4 separate regions of the Homo sapiens genome follow, and regions 1, 2 and 3 are each linked to region 4. Evidence: promoter capture Hi-C in 16 types of primary human blood cells and fetal thymus (Javierre and others, 2016). All regions are on one chromosome and are shown on one strand. Each heading gives the region's core, a stretch centred on a gene start or on the middle of the fragment in contact. The rest is flanking DNA. Distances are from core to core; before and after follow the strand shown. Region 1 overlaps CLSTN3 (calsyntenin 3). Region 2 holds the start of GNB3 (G protein subunit beta 3). Region 3 holds the start of CD4 (CD4 molecule). Region 4 holds the start of PHB2 (prohibitin 2).

The links. Contacts are between HindIII fragments. The CHiCAGO score rates a contact against its expected background, and 5 or more counts as called.
Region 1: a fragment that was not itself captured here is called in contact with the fragment with the promoter of PHB2 in region 4 in 3 of 17 cell types (erythroblasts, M2 macrophages and total CD8 T cells); the score reaches 7.7 in erythroblasts.
Region 2: the fragment with the promoter of GNB3 here is called in contact with the fragment with the promoter of PHB2 in region 4 in 2 of 17 cell types (non-activated CD4 T cells and activated CD4 T cells); the score reaches 5.2 in non-activated CD4 T cells.
Region 3: a contact is called between the fragment with the promoter of CD4 here and the fragment with the promoter of PHB2 in region 4, in 3 of 17 cell types (non-activated CD4 T cells, activated CD4 T cells and total CD4 T cells). The highest score is 6.2, in non-activated CD4 T cells.

What each region holds. Positions count from the first base shown.
Region 1 is chr12:7,149,517-7,152,707 of GRCh38, forward strand. It overlaps CLSTN3 (calsyntenin 3), which reads left to right. Exons shown (of 18, transcript NM_014718.4): 14 at 7-177; 15 at 1,028-1,173; 16 at 1,412-1,547. Among named protein-coding and RNA genes, the nearest start is that of CLSTN3, 21 kb to the left of the region's middle. The HindIII fragment of the contact is 5,620 bases long and covers 1-3,191 here.
Region 2 is chr12:6,838,839-6,842,311 of GRCh38, forward strand. GNB3 (G protein subunit beta 3) reads left to right here and starts at 2,087. Exons shown (of 10, transcript NM_002075.4): 1 at 2,087-2,195; 2 at 2,420-2,506; 3 at 2,748-2,786. The coding sequence starts at 2,450. P3H3 (prolyl 3-hydroxylase 3) reads left to right here. Exons shown (of 15, transcript NM_014262.5): 14 at 162-302; 15 at 459-1,009. The coding sequence ends at 623. The HindIII fragment of the contact is 12,557 bases long and covers 1-3,473 here.
Region 3 is chr12:6,788,059-6,791,167 of GRCh38, forward strand. It overlaps CD4 (CD4 molecule), which reads left to right and starts at 1,470. Exons shown (of 10, transcript NM_000616.5): 1 at 1,470-1,604. RefSeq lists enhancers at 954-1,511, 1,327-1,376. The HindIII fragment of the contact is 6,468 bases long and covers 1-3,109 here.
Region 4 is chr12:6,968,638-6,971,954 of GRCh38, forward strand. PHB2 (prohibitin 2) reads right to left here and starts at 2,027. Exons shown (of 10, transcript NM_001144831.2): 1 at 1,780-2,027; 2 at 1,559-1,643; 3 at 861-940. The coding sequence starts at 1,906. It overlaps EMG1 (EMG1 N1-specific pseudouridine methyltransferase), which reads left to right and starts at 2,276. Exons shown (of 6, transcript NM_006331.8): 1 at 2,276-2,454. The coding sequence starts at 2,287. RefSeq lists enhancers at 1,951-2,553, 2,074-2,143, 2,234-2,413, 2,464-2,583. The HindIII fragment of the contact is 5,065 bases long and covers 598-3,317 here.

The DNA.
Region 1 (3,191 bases), core at 436-2,935, 180 kb after region 4:
ACCCAGTGACAGACACACGCATGTCGGATGAGATTGTGCACAACCTGGATGGCTGTGAAATTTCTCTGGTGGGGGATGACCTGGATCCCGAGCGGGAAAGCCTGCTCCTGGACACAACCTCTCTGCAGCAGCGGGGGCTGGAGCTCACCAACACATCTGCCTACCTCACTATTGCTGGTCAGTGGGGCCTGAGGGCCTGTCCTCTGTGTGTGTGTGCCCCTCCCAAAAAGTAAGGGCCTAGGAAGCCCAGAGGGTCCTCCTTCCAGGTCCAGGGATGTGGACAAGTGCCGTTTTGCATTTTCCTAGCCTGGAAGATCCTCTGGCTTTGATTGTCCCTAGGGAAGGTGTGCTGGGTTTAGGCTCCGAATGCTTCTGTCTTCCTGCTCCTCTCCATAGCCTGGCTCACCTCCACTTCTGGTCCCACTCCTGTTTCCATTCAGGCTTCTCACCTTCCTCTCCTCCTTCGGCTCATCTCTGCCCAGCTTTCTAACCCTCTAGCTGTCTGTTTGTTACCGGTCATCTCTGTTGTTCAGCTCACTCATCTCACGTGCACACCAGAGCTTTACAAGAAGTACTCATCTCTTAGTGAATAGTGGGAGTGATGATTTGGTAGTTTCCAAAGGAAGCCAGGAGGGAGAATGGAGAAGATGGAGATAATCAGTTCCCTTCTATTTCCACTCCTTTCCAGGGCTCACTGAGGACTTCTGTATTTTCCTCTTTCTCATATTCCCTCCTGCTTGCCATCTCCCTTTCTGTCTTTCAGGATGTCTTTATCTCCTTCTTTCCATTCCTCCTCAGAACCTACAGAGCAGGAAATGGAGCCTTGATCTCTCCATCCTAGTTAGTCAGAGTGGGCAGGGATGGAGGGGAGCATCCCTCCCTTCGACCTCAGGTCGCACTTCTGCGGAGATGGGGCTGACCTGCTCTACAGCTTGTGTGGCGTCAGCTGGTGGGAGTCCAGGAGAGAGGGTCCTGCCCAGGTCCTGCCTCCACTGGCCCCTGCCCTGAGGTGCTTCCTCATCTCCAGGGGTGGAGAGCATCACTGTGTATGAAGAGATCCTGAGGCAGGCTCGTTATCGGCTGCGACACGGAGCTGCCCTCTACACCAGGAAGTTCCGGCTTTCCTGCTCGGAAATGAATGGCCGTTACTCCAGCAATGAATTCATCGTGGAGGTACCCAGAGAGTCTCCTTCCTTCCACAGTTACCCACCCCCAGAAAGGAGCTGAGGTGGCATGGACTCAAAATGTTAGTTGGTGGGCATGGACATGGCAGCGTGGAGGGCTGCTGGACCTTGCAGTGGGTGGAGGAGAAGGAGATGGGGGCAGTAGTTAGGAGATGGGGCTGGGGTCTAGAGAAGTGGGGAGGACCTGGGAGAAGCGTGTGTGCCCATGGAGCCCTCCCTCTGCCCAGGTCAATGTCCTGCACAGCATGAACCGGGTTGCCCACCCCAGCCACGTGCTCAGCTCCCAGCAGTTCCTGCACCGTGGTCACCAGCCCCCGCCTGAGATGGCTGGACACAGCCTAGCCAGCTCCCACAGAAACTCCAGTACGTAAGCCTGGTGGGGCTGGGCAGGGAGGGGCAGGTGGCAGGTGAGTGTGTTGGGACAGGTATCCTCCCCCTCCACCTCTGGGAGAGGACAAGGTAGGTGGAGCAATGGGTTCTGTTCCCTGTGGTACCTGCCTTAGTTGACAGCTATGGACCAATCCCTCTCTCCCTTTGGATCATTCACTTTCCCTTGTGAAGAACATGAGCCTTGTGTCATTGTAGGGATGCTTATGCCTGCAGTCATAAAGTCAGTGTGGGTTTAGGCGTGTTTGTTATACCTGATGATGCCTCCTTCCCCAGCCCCAAGCAATATCAAATTAGCCCTGGACCTAGGATCCTCTGTGGTGAAACTATCAAGTATTTACTAAGCACCTACTATGTACTAGCACTGTCCTAAGATGATCTAAATGATTTATAGGATAGATCAGTCCCTATCCCCAAGGAGAGAATTGGTACTATTACATGTAAAATTATGTGCTACGTATGCAGTCACAAGAATATTTCTAAAAAATATATGCAAATATGCAAAGCGTTACATTCAGATGGAGTGCTGCCCTTCAAAGCTGCCCTTCAAAGCAACCTGGCCGTGGTCCCAAAGGTTCCCGGTCATGGTCCTTTACGAATGGTGCAATTTTATTTTCAACTTTTGAGTTGCGTAATTGTAGAAAAACCAGAAAATATCAAATATTTCTTTTAAAGAAGAAAAATCAGGCCAGGCACAGTGGCTCATGCCTGTAATCCCAACACACTAGGCTGAGTCAGGAGGCTCACTTGAGTCCAGGAGTTTGAGACCAGCCTGGGCAACACAGTGAGACTCTGTCTTTACAAAAAATAAAAAAAATTAGCTGGGCATGGTGGCAGGTGCCTGTAGTCCCAGCTACTTGGGAGGCTGAGGTAGGAGGATCTCTTGGGCCTGTGAGGCCAAGGCTGCAGTGAGCCATGATCACACCACTGCACTCCAGTCTGGGAGACAGAGCAAGGCTCTGTCTCAAAGGAAAAAAAAAAAAAAAAAAGAAAGAAGAAGACGAGGAAAACTCAGCCATAATTCCGTCAGAGAGGAAACCACTGATAATATGAGTATTCTGTTCCAGTCTTTTTTCTATGCTTAATTTTTCCTTTTTAGAAAGTTAGGATTAGCCTATTTTGTAACCTGATATTTACACTTCATATTATAAAACAAGTATTTTCCCACATTATTAAAAATTGCAAATGATGCTGATGTTGTTGAAAGTGATTTTTGGAACCCCTTCTTAGAATTGCTTTCAGAGCCAATTTATGAGGTGCATTTATTTTTGTTATTTTTTGGACATAACTTGCTTTTGACCCTGTTCAGTGTTACTCAACTTCATCACCCAGTTTTGCCAAAGTTGAATCTGGATATAATTTTAAGTTTTTAAACATTAAACCCACTCTCAAAGGCCATAGATCGGTCACCTTTGAAAAGAGTCAAAAGGTTGTGTCACAGGCTTTTGAGAATTGAAGGCAATTCTCAAAGGAGTCCACTAGTGCTTTCTGGGAAGAAATTTGTGGTCTCTGAACACTATGTGAAAGTACAGAACTTATTTCAATATATGTGATGGGTAATAATAATTATAACAAACACAGGGTGCTCTCATCATGTGCCAGGCACTGTGCTCGGGGGAT
Region 2 (3,473 bases), core at 837-3,336, 130 kb before region 4:
TTCTCATTTGCCCCAAGCTAGTCCCTGAATTAAGGAGTAGGAAGTGGTAGCGAGAGAGCTGATCCTCTCTGTGCCCCTGTCCCCATCCTGCTCTAGGGAGTGAGGGCCAAGTTCTCTGAGAGAGCCAATCCCTGGAGCTGAACCTGCCCTCATCCCTCCAGGCTCGGGTGCGTCCTCGCTGTGGGCGCCTTGTGGCCTTCAGCTCCGGTGTCGAGAATCCCCATGGGGTGTGGGCCGTGACTCGGGGACGGCGCTGTGCCCTGGCACTGTGGCACACGTGGGCACCTGAGCACAGGGAGCAGGTAAGGAGCGGGGTAGGAAGGGATGTGGTTCTCCTGGTGCGTGAAGGGTGGGCAAGGAGCCCCCGAGAAGGCTCACAGTCGGTGAGGGTCAGGGGCTGAGCTGACCCAGGGAAGGTGGGTGCAGGGAATGGGCCACACTCTCCTCCCCAACCCCAGGAGTGGATAGAAGCCAAAGAACTGCTGCAGGAGTCACAGGAGGAGGAGGAAGAGGAAGAGGAAGAAATGCCCAGCAAAGACCCTTCCCCAGAGCCCCCTAGCCGCAGGCACCAGAGGGTCCAAGACAAGACTGGAAGGGCACCTCGGGTTCGGGAGGAGCTGTGAGTGGCTGAGCCAGCTCCTTGAGGATGTGGCCACTTGACTTGTGGAAGGCCATCTTGATGCCAGGACACACAGGAAGCCCCTGTGTGACATCAGGAGCAGAACAGCAAGCTCTCTGTCCCTGCACCCCCACCATCTTGGGGACCTACAAGGGCCTGGACTCAGAGGACAGTGCACAGGCTAGCCTGGAGCTCACCAGGCCTGGGGAGCTGGGACGGGGCCCCGCTGCCGGACCTGCAGCCCTGGACAGATGGGGAACACTGTGCCTCCCTGAACAGAAATGGCAGGGGAGGAGGCTGATGCTTTAAATGAAGAGGATGGTGGGGTTGGGAGGTATAACCCTGCTCCTCTCTCCCAGTCTGTGCAATAAAGGTCGTGAAGATCTCTCAGCCAGGGGCCAGTCAAGTGTATCACAGATTCTGTGATGGCTGGAGGTGGGGGTGGCTCTGGCTGGCCTGGGAGGAGACAGGTGTCTTTGGGCCTCCCAGAGGCGGGGCGCCTGGAGCCTGTGATTTGTCAGGGAAATCTCAGCCACCTGCTCCCCTCATGCAAATGACCCAAGCCCCTGGCAGCTGCTCCTTAGGCCTCCAAGTGTAAGCCCTGTCTTCCCTCTCTGAGCTTTGCTGAGACTTAGGGCCGCCTGCTTTCTCTCTGACCCCTGCTTTCACAGCCTCGAGAGGGCAAGGAGGGGGCCAGACCCCAGCCTGGGAGCAGCGTGCGGGCCTTCCCTCCACTTGAAATCCGTTGCCCGCCCACAATAGGGGCAGACCTGTCCATCCTTCTCTGTGGGTCCCCTGTACCTTTCTCCCCCAACAGGATCAGACCCAGAGGCAGCTGGTTGGGGTTTGTCGAGAAGAAGGATTATCCAGATCAGTCCTTTCTAATCTCAGCTCCTGCCTGTACCCTCCCATACTCACCAAACCCTCTTCCCCACCACCCTGAGCTGAGGAGCACAGTTTGAGGTACTGACAATGGGGCCATCTATCACCCTTATATCCCACCTCCTGGCCTGGTTGCTAAGTGGCCCTGACTGCCAAGATCATCACCATGGATGGGGGCCGGGACCAGGGGGGCCACTGGAGCTGTAGTTGTCTGCTCCTTTGCACCCCTCCCAAACCCCAACCCTTAATCCTCACAGCTTTGCTCTAATCCTGTGGGGCCTGATGCTCTTATCTCTGCCTGCAGAGACTGACCAGGGAAGCACCCCTTCACCCCCTCCTCTCTCAGGGCTTGTGGTGGGGGCTGCCCCTCTCTATGGCCCCACACTCCTGCCCCCAACCCTCCTCCCGGCTGGGCCCAAGTCTCTCTGGAATCCGTACACCTCCCTCCCTCCCCCCACCCCTTCCCCCCACCCCTGCCAGCTGATTTCATTTGCCTGACGTTGTGGTTGGCTCTACCCTTCCCTGTCAGGCCCCCCCAACCCCCCGCCGGTCGGGGCCAGGCCAGGCCAGGCCAGCTCCTCTGGCAGCAGAGCCTGGGCAGGTGACGGGCGGGCGCGGGCGTCGCAGCTGAGGGAGTAAGGAGGCTCCCAGGAACCGGAGCTGGAAACCCGGCCGAGGTCCAGCCAGAGCCCAAGTAAGAGGGAGCTGGCCTGGGCTCTGCTCTCCTGGGCTGGGGCGCAGGCAGGGCTCAGGCAGGCTGGGGCTGGACGCAAAGGACCTCAAACTTGGAGGGCCTAGCTGGGGAGAGGGTGCAGCCACCCAGTCGTTTCCCTGTGTCTTGGAGTCTGGTGTGGGCACGAAGGGCAGAAGCACAGCCTGGTGGGGGGTTCCTCAACACCGACCCCATGTTCCTGGCAGGAGCCAGAGTGACCCCTCGACCTGTCAGCCATGGGGGAGATGGAGCAACTGCGTCAGGAAGCGGAGCAGCTCAAGAAGCAGATTGCAGTAACTCCAGAGCCCTACCCCTGGGGCCCCAGAAAACAGCTGGGGACATGAGGAGCGTGGCCCAGGGGGAGGGGGCTGGGTTTGCTCTTGAGTGACTAGAAGTGACCAGGGACTTTCTAAACTTGGTTCGCATATTTGAGACCCCCAAGCCCCAGAGCCCCAAGACCAACCTGCCCTGAAGGCCCATGCACCTGCCACCCCCACCTCGCCCTTGCTCCCCTGATGTCTGCTTTCCCTGCAGGATGCCAGGAAAGCCTGTGCTGACGTTACTCTGGCAGAGGTAAGACCCCCTGTCCCCCGGAAGGCAGGGCATGGGGGGAGGGGAAGGGAGCTCCCCGACCCGCAATAGCGCGTTGCTCCGAGCATTAGTACAGCACGTCCTTGGAGTGAGGAAACCCATTAATTAATTCATTCGACCAACATTTTAGCGGGACCTGCTCTGAGCCAGGCACCATATTGGATGCGAAAGATGCGGACACGGTTCCTATTCTCATCCGTAGAACAAGAGTGACCACAGCCCCCTCCCAGGGCCTTGAAGATGAAGAAGCGATAGTACTTTGTAAATTATAAAGCCCTTGTAGACTCTAGCTGCTAGTTTTCTATGCTGTATTTTGTCAATTCTAAGATGCACATTTCTTCACATTTTGACATCTCTGAAATCAAGGTGCATTCAGCAATGGATCATTGTTTCAATTAGAATTGACAGCATCTTTTCTTTCTTAGTGATGCATCTTAGATTGGATTAAATATGTTAATAGTGAACACTTTTTATGAGCCAGATACTGGGCTAAGCTGCATAAATACCTGATTTCATTGAATTTTCATGATATCTCTGTAAGGTAGGTGCTATGATAAGCCTCATTTTACACCTTGAGTAAACAGACTCAGGGAGGTGAAGCAACTTGCCCAAGATAACAAAGCAGGCCGGGCGCAGTGGTTCACGCCTGTAATCCCAGCCCTTTGGGAG
Region 3 (3,109 bases), core at 220-2,719, 180 kb before region 4:
AGGAGAATTGCTTGAACCCGGGAGGCAGAGGTTGCAGTGAGCCAAGATCACGCCACTGCACTCTAGCCTGGGCAACAGAGTGAGACTCCCTCTCAAAAAAAAAAAAAAAAAAAAATATATATATATATATATATAGAATGCCTTTAATGAAGCAGTAAATACTAATTTTATTAAATCTCAACCCTTGAGTACGGTGTGTCATGAAATGAGAAGTAGCACACAGTACTATATGCTACAGATGAAGTACAATGCTGTCAAATAGGGGTACTTGTGTTAATTGTTGGAGTCGCAAGCTGAACTAGAGTTTTCTTTTCTTTTCTTTTCTTTTCTTCTTTTCAAGACAGGTTCTCACTCTGTCACTCAGGCTAGAGTGCAGTGGTGCAATCACGGTTCACTGCAGCCTCAACTTCCTGGGCTCAAGCGATCCCCCCACCTCGGCCTCCTAAAATGCTGGGATTATAGGCATGAGCCACCACTCCCAGCCCCACTTTTTTCAGACTGGAAAACGCACACTCACATGTGCATCTTTAAATGATCACTTGGGCTGTGGTATGGAGAATGGCGACCAGTGAGGAGGCAGGAGCTGTTGTCCGAGCAAGGGATGATATTGGCATCTTGGATTGGCATGGTGGCAGTAGTGGTAGTGCAGAGTGACTTGGGTAGATTTTGGAGCCATTTAGAAGGTAACATCCACAGGAACTGGTAAATAAATACGTGGGAGAAGTTGGGTGAAGGGGGTGTCAAAGATTACACCCAATTTATTTTGCTTGGGCAAGTTGGTGGATGGTGAGCCCCTCACTGAGTGAGAAGCCTGGAGAAGCAGGTTTGGAGGGTGGTAGTATGCAGGTGGTATGCATAGTTGGGGATGTGTGTTGAGTTTGCTATGTCCGGTGAGCTTCCCAGTGGAGATGTCCAATGGGCAGACGGATACTCACATAGAGAGTTCATGGTAGATTCGGGCTAGAGGAAAGCACCTGAGGCCTGGCCAGAGACGCCTAGAGGAACAGAGCCTGGTTAACAGTCACTCCTGGTGTCTCAGATATTCTCTGCTCAGCCCACGCCCTCTCTTCCACACTGGGCCACCTATAAAGCCTCCACAGATACCCCTGGGGCACCCACTGGACACATGCCCTCAGGGCCCCAGAGCAAGGAGCTGTTTGTGGGCTTACCACTGCTGTTCCCATATGCCCCCAACTGCCTCCCACTTCTTTCCCCACAGCCTGGTCAGACATGGCGCTACCACTAATGGAATCTTTCTTGCCATCTTTTTCTTGCCGCTTAACAGTGGCAGTGACAGTTTGACTCCTGATTTAAGCCTGATTCTGCTTAACTTTTTCCCTTGACTTTGGCATTTTCACTTTGACATGTTCCCTGAGAGCCTGGGGGGTGGGGAACCCAGCTCCAGCTGGTGACGTTTGGGGCCGGCCCAGGCCTAGGGTGTGGAGGAGCCTTGCCATCGGGCTTCCTGTCTCTCTTCATTTAAGCACGACTCTGCAGAAGGAACAAAGCACCCTCCCCACTGGGCTCCTGGTTGCAGAGCTCCAAGTCCTCACACAGATACGCCTGTTTGAGAAGCAGCGGGCAAGAAAGACGCAAGCCCAGAGGTAAGGTGGTCAGACTCGGCTTCCTTCCCCGGAGCTGAGAGGGAGGGGAACGTGGGGCAGATGCACAGGAATGTGCTCTGCCCAGTTGTCTGCCCACAGCTCTGGCCACCTTCTCTTGCATTTCTCTTGGAACTGGTCATGAGCAGCGATTTCCCACTGGAACTGTGAGCTTCCAGAGGTCAGAGACTGTGCTAGACTCCTCTCTGCAGCCCCAGCGTGCACAGCTCAGTGTCCAGAGCAATGGGTGCTCCTTAGAGGAGTAGTGACCTAAATAGCAAGATCAGAGAGGGAGTGAAGACTGGAGACTATCCCAGGCTGGGAAAGGCGTGGAAGGCAACTAGTCGTGGGCAGTTGAGGGGAGAAGACTGGAAGAGGGGAAAAGAGGAGAAAAAGAGTGAAGAAGGGGAGGGAAAAAATTAGAAAGAATAAATAAATATAAGGTGGGAGGAAACCTATAAAAAAGAAATGATGAGGAAAAACATAAAAACAAGAAAAAGAGCAAAAGAAGTGGAATCTAGTCTAGAGAAAATTCTTGCAAAACCAATTTTCCTTAACGGGACAATCTCCAAAAATTGACACCAAATATCATACTTGCAGCATTTCATAAGTCGCATGATCTATGTAATAGTCTCTTTTAACTACCTTTTGTGTTTCTGTGTGTATTTTTAAATTTTTGTCTGCTTCTTTGCTCTTTTAAGATTTTTGAACAATGTCTAAAGGCACTTCTACTCTAGTTAGCTTTAAAATGATTCATGAAATAGGAAAGCTAAAATTCTCAGAAAGTGTTGAAACTGAGCTTTTGCGTATGAATTGCCCTAAAAGTTGCAGATACATATCTTTAGATAAATATGTCATTTAAGAAACGGATTCGAAAAGAATTGGTGGTAGGGGTCTCATGAGGCCGGGAGAGTTACAGAAGGATGTGCAGCCCCTCCTGGGCCTGGCAGGGTGTGAGGGAGAGTGAGGACTCACTGTCCCTCCTGAAGGGAAGCCCTGTGCCATCTCAGCCTTTCCGCCCTCAGACCTTTCCAGCCCCTGAGACCTCATGGCCTTGAAGCCGTGCTATCCCCAGTGTCCTCTGCTTTCCCCTCATAGGCTTCTTCTGGGAGAGAGGTTTCCTGGGGTACGTTCTGATCCCTCAAAACGGAAAGGCCCTGTTCTCAATAATTCAAAGATTTCACTCTGAGTGGGATAGTGCTTCCTGAATGCCCTGCTCTTGTGGTGGACATTTTTATCGGGGCAAGGCTAAGAGCAGGGCCTGATGGGGGAAGTCACTGCTACTTCACATTTTGACCAATAATTCCTTGTGCTGTATCAGATGCTGTAGGCTGATACAAAATGGCCGCCGCCCTCAAAGTCAGATGAAAGAGCCCCTGAGGACAGCGTTAGAGACACTCGGGAGATGATTTCCCTCTTTCAATGTGGGAGCACTTACATAGGAGAGGTCTATATCTAGATAAAAACTCCTCCCACCACTGGTGCTAGACAGAGCTTGGGGGCAGCCC
Region 4 (3,317 bases), core at 777-3,276:
TTTCCCAAGCATTTTCTCCTTCATGTTCCTCCCTGTATGCCCTGTGCAATGGTGTACAGCCTGGCACTACCCTGGGGGGAGGAGAGTTAATCAGGCTGACAAGGAAGACAAGACGCAGCACAGCTGAAATGCACCCTCACCCACTGTGAAGCCTTGAACTGCAAACCCCGTCACCAGCAGAGCTGACTACTCTTTCCCCCTCTGTACTCTGTGCAACCTCTAACGTGGGCGCTTTCGTGCTGTACCGTAATCATGTCTCCTGTAAGGACTTGGGGGACAAGAATTGTGTTTAATGAATCTTTTATTCCCAGGGCCCAGTCTAGTAAATGAATAAGCGACCTGCACTAGGTATAGCACAAAGAAGTACATTACAGGTTACAGGTGAGCTACCTGACCCAGGGTGTATATGTGTGCGTGGGTGGGGAGGAGGAAGAGGTCTGGGGAACTCAAAGGCACGGCTTTTATGTATGGTCTAGAAGGAGAGAACAGGTGAACTAGTCAAGCTTAGGGACAAACTTCTCCAGAACAGAGTGTACTAGTGGATGTAACTGTAGATATAGTAAGTCAAGCAGTTAGAAAAAAAAGGCTTTAAAACAAAGCTTTGATCTAGGCAGTGAACAAGACGAGGGACAAACAATACTCTTATTGAATACACGTCAGGGAGGAGACAGTAAAAAGCACGCAAACACAGTGTGTTCAGAATTTGCTGCTTTGACCCCAGGAGGCAGGTATTTTTGTTACAGCTCTTGCAGATGTGGAAAGAGGCCTAAAGGCCTGACACTACCATATTCCCCTGGGGTTTCTTGCCAGCTACCTTGATCATCCCACCTGCCATGTGATTACCAAGTGCTCAGACCTACCTTTGGAGCCTGTAGGGGAGGAGATTTTTCGAGGTCTGGCCCGAATGTCATAGATAATGGGGTACTGGAACCAAGGGATCCTGGAGAGGACAGGGATAGGTATTAAGAGGCCACAGTTTCGGCCGGGCGCGGTGGCTCACGCCTGTAATCCCAGCACTTTGGGAGGCCGAGGCGGGCGGATCATTTGAGGTCAGGAGTTCGAGACCAGCTTGATCTACATAGTGAAACCCCGTCTCTACTAAAATACAAAAATTAGCCGGGCGTGGTGGCGGGCGCCTGTAATCCCAGCTACTCGTGAGGCTGAGGCAGGAGAATCGCTTGAAATCAGGAGGCGGAGGTTGCAGTGAGCCGAGATCGCGCCACTGCACTCCAGCCTGGGCGACAGAGCAAGACTCCCTCTCCAAAAAAAAAAAAAGAAAAGGCCGCAGTTTCACTAGCCTTGCCCGGTTTCCCCTCACCACGCGTTTTTTGGCCTGCTCCTCTCCACGACCACAGACAAGGAGAGATTCTCTTGTCCCTCTGGAAAACAACAGTTTGTATGCTGCTGGAGGTTCTCGCAGCACCCACTATCCTAGGGGCAGGGATGAGGAGGGTGGGAAAAGAGCAGCGTTGAATCCTGTTGCACGTCCGACTATAGCCACTGCTGGGTCGGCGTCAAGGGTGAAAGGTCAGGGTCAGCAGGCTCTGCCCGCCATTACCTGAAGTGAAGGCCCTCGGCCAGGATAGTGTCCTGCTGCACTCCACCGATCCGATTGAAGAAGATGGCTCTGTGCCCGCCTTCCACTGTGGGGAGATGGGTGGTGATCAGGCCAGGCCGCTGCTCAGAGGAAATGCTAGGCCCGTGGAGGGGCGCGGGGACAGGGCAAGGGGTTTGGGGGAGGGACTGGAAGCGTCCGGCGAGCAGGCGGAGGTTGCTCACCGGTGAACACAGATTCGCGCACACCGTAGGCCACGGCGCCGGCCCCCAGCAACAGCTTCAGGGCCGTGCCCATGCCCCGGGGCCCGGCGGGCAGCCGTCCCGCCAAGTCCTTCAAGTTCTGGGCCATGTCTGATCTTGAGGCCGGCGGCACTGGAGGTCAGAAGGGGGTGCCGGCCCGCCTCTACCCCGCTCCGGCTTAGGTACTGCACCCTTCACACGAGGGTTCGGGCCCGTAAGGCTGGCGAAAGAAAGGGCAGCGGAAGTGCGCTCCCTTTGAAACCCTCCCCCTTAGCCCACTACGGACCCGAACTTCGCGCACAGGAATCGCGCATACGGAAGTCCCGCCCCTTTCTGGAAGGCTGCCCTCCCAGGGAGGGCAGCGCAAGACAGCAAGTCATCTCCATTTCCTGGCCCACTTTCAAAATGGCAGCCGGAAGGAAATTTGTGATTAGAAGCCGCGCTGTTCTTATTTAAGAGCGTTAGCGCAACTTCCGGTATTGTTGCAAGATGGCCGCGCCCAGTGATGGATTCAAGCCTCGTGAACGAAGCGGTGGGGAGCAGGCACAGGACTGGGATGCTCTGCCACCCAAGCGGCCCCGACTAGGGGCAGGAAACAAGATCGGAGGCCGTAGGCTTATTGTGGTGCTGGAAGGGGCCAGTCTGGAGACAGTCAAGGTAGTTTGGGACAGGAAGTGGAGAAGTAGTAAATCGATAGGTTGGGACTCCGTGGAATGAGGGTAAGGGGCCCAGAGTGGATGTAGAAAGCAGAGAGGGGTGAAAGATGCTTTTGAAGGAAGGTGGCTTGGTTGGCTTTGCGTTGATTTGACATCCTGGGATGGTAGTACTCATTTTTCTTTCTTTTTTTTTTTTTTTTTGAGACGGAGTCTCGCTCTGTCGCCCAGGCTGGAGTGCAGTTGCGCGACCTCGGCTCACTGCAACTTCTGCCTCCCGCCTTCAAACAGTTCTCCTGACTCAGCCTCTGGAGTAGCTGGGACTACAGGCAGGTGCCACCACGCCCGGCTAATTTTTTTGTATTTTTAGTTCAGATGGGGTTTCACCATGTTGGCCACGCTGGTCTCGAACTCCTGACCTCAAGTGATCCGCCCGCCTCGGCCTCCCAAAGTGTTGGGATTAGAGGCGTGAGCCACTGTGCCCGGCCGGTAGTACTCATTTTCTTTTGCTCTTTTTGAATGATATTCTAGCCCTCACCTCCTTGCTTCCAATTGGTTTACCAGGATTCTGTGGTATAGTAGTCTAAGCAGAGGAAAGTTTCGTTCCTTGCGTCATTCCACATCCCAAGACAAGTTACTGGGCAGATGAGAAACGTAGTTATGTAGCCTAGTCTGCCCACACTTTTTGTAAGGGCTTCGTGTTTCAATTCATTAGTATCCATAGTCACCTCTCTCTAATATCCACCTATGATACACTGTCCAGACCTGGTTATTATTTAAAACTTTTACATCTGCATTTTTATCTATCATTCATCTCTTTCCCCACATGTAATAGAACCAGCAGTTCTCTATCTTAAAGCCTTGGGC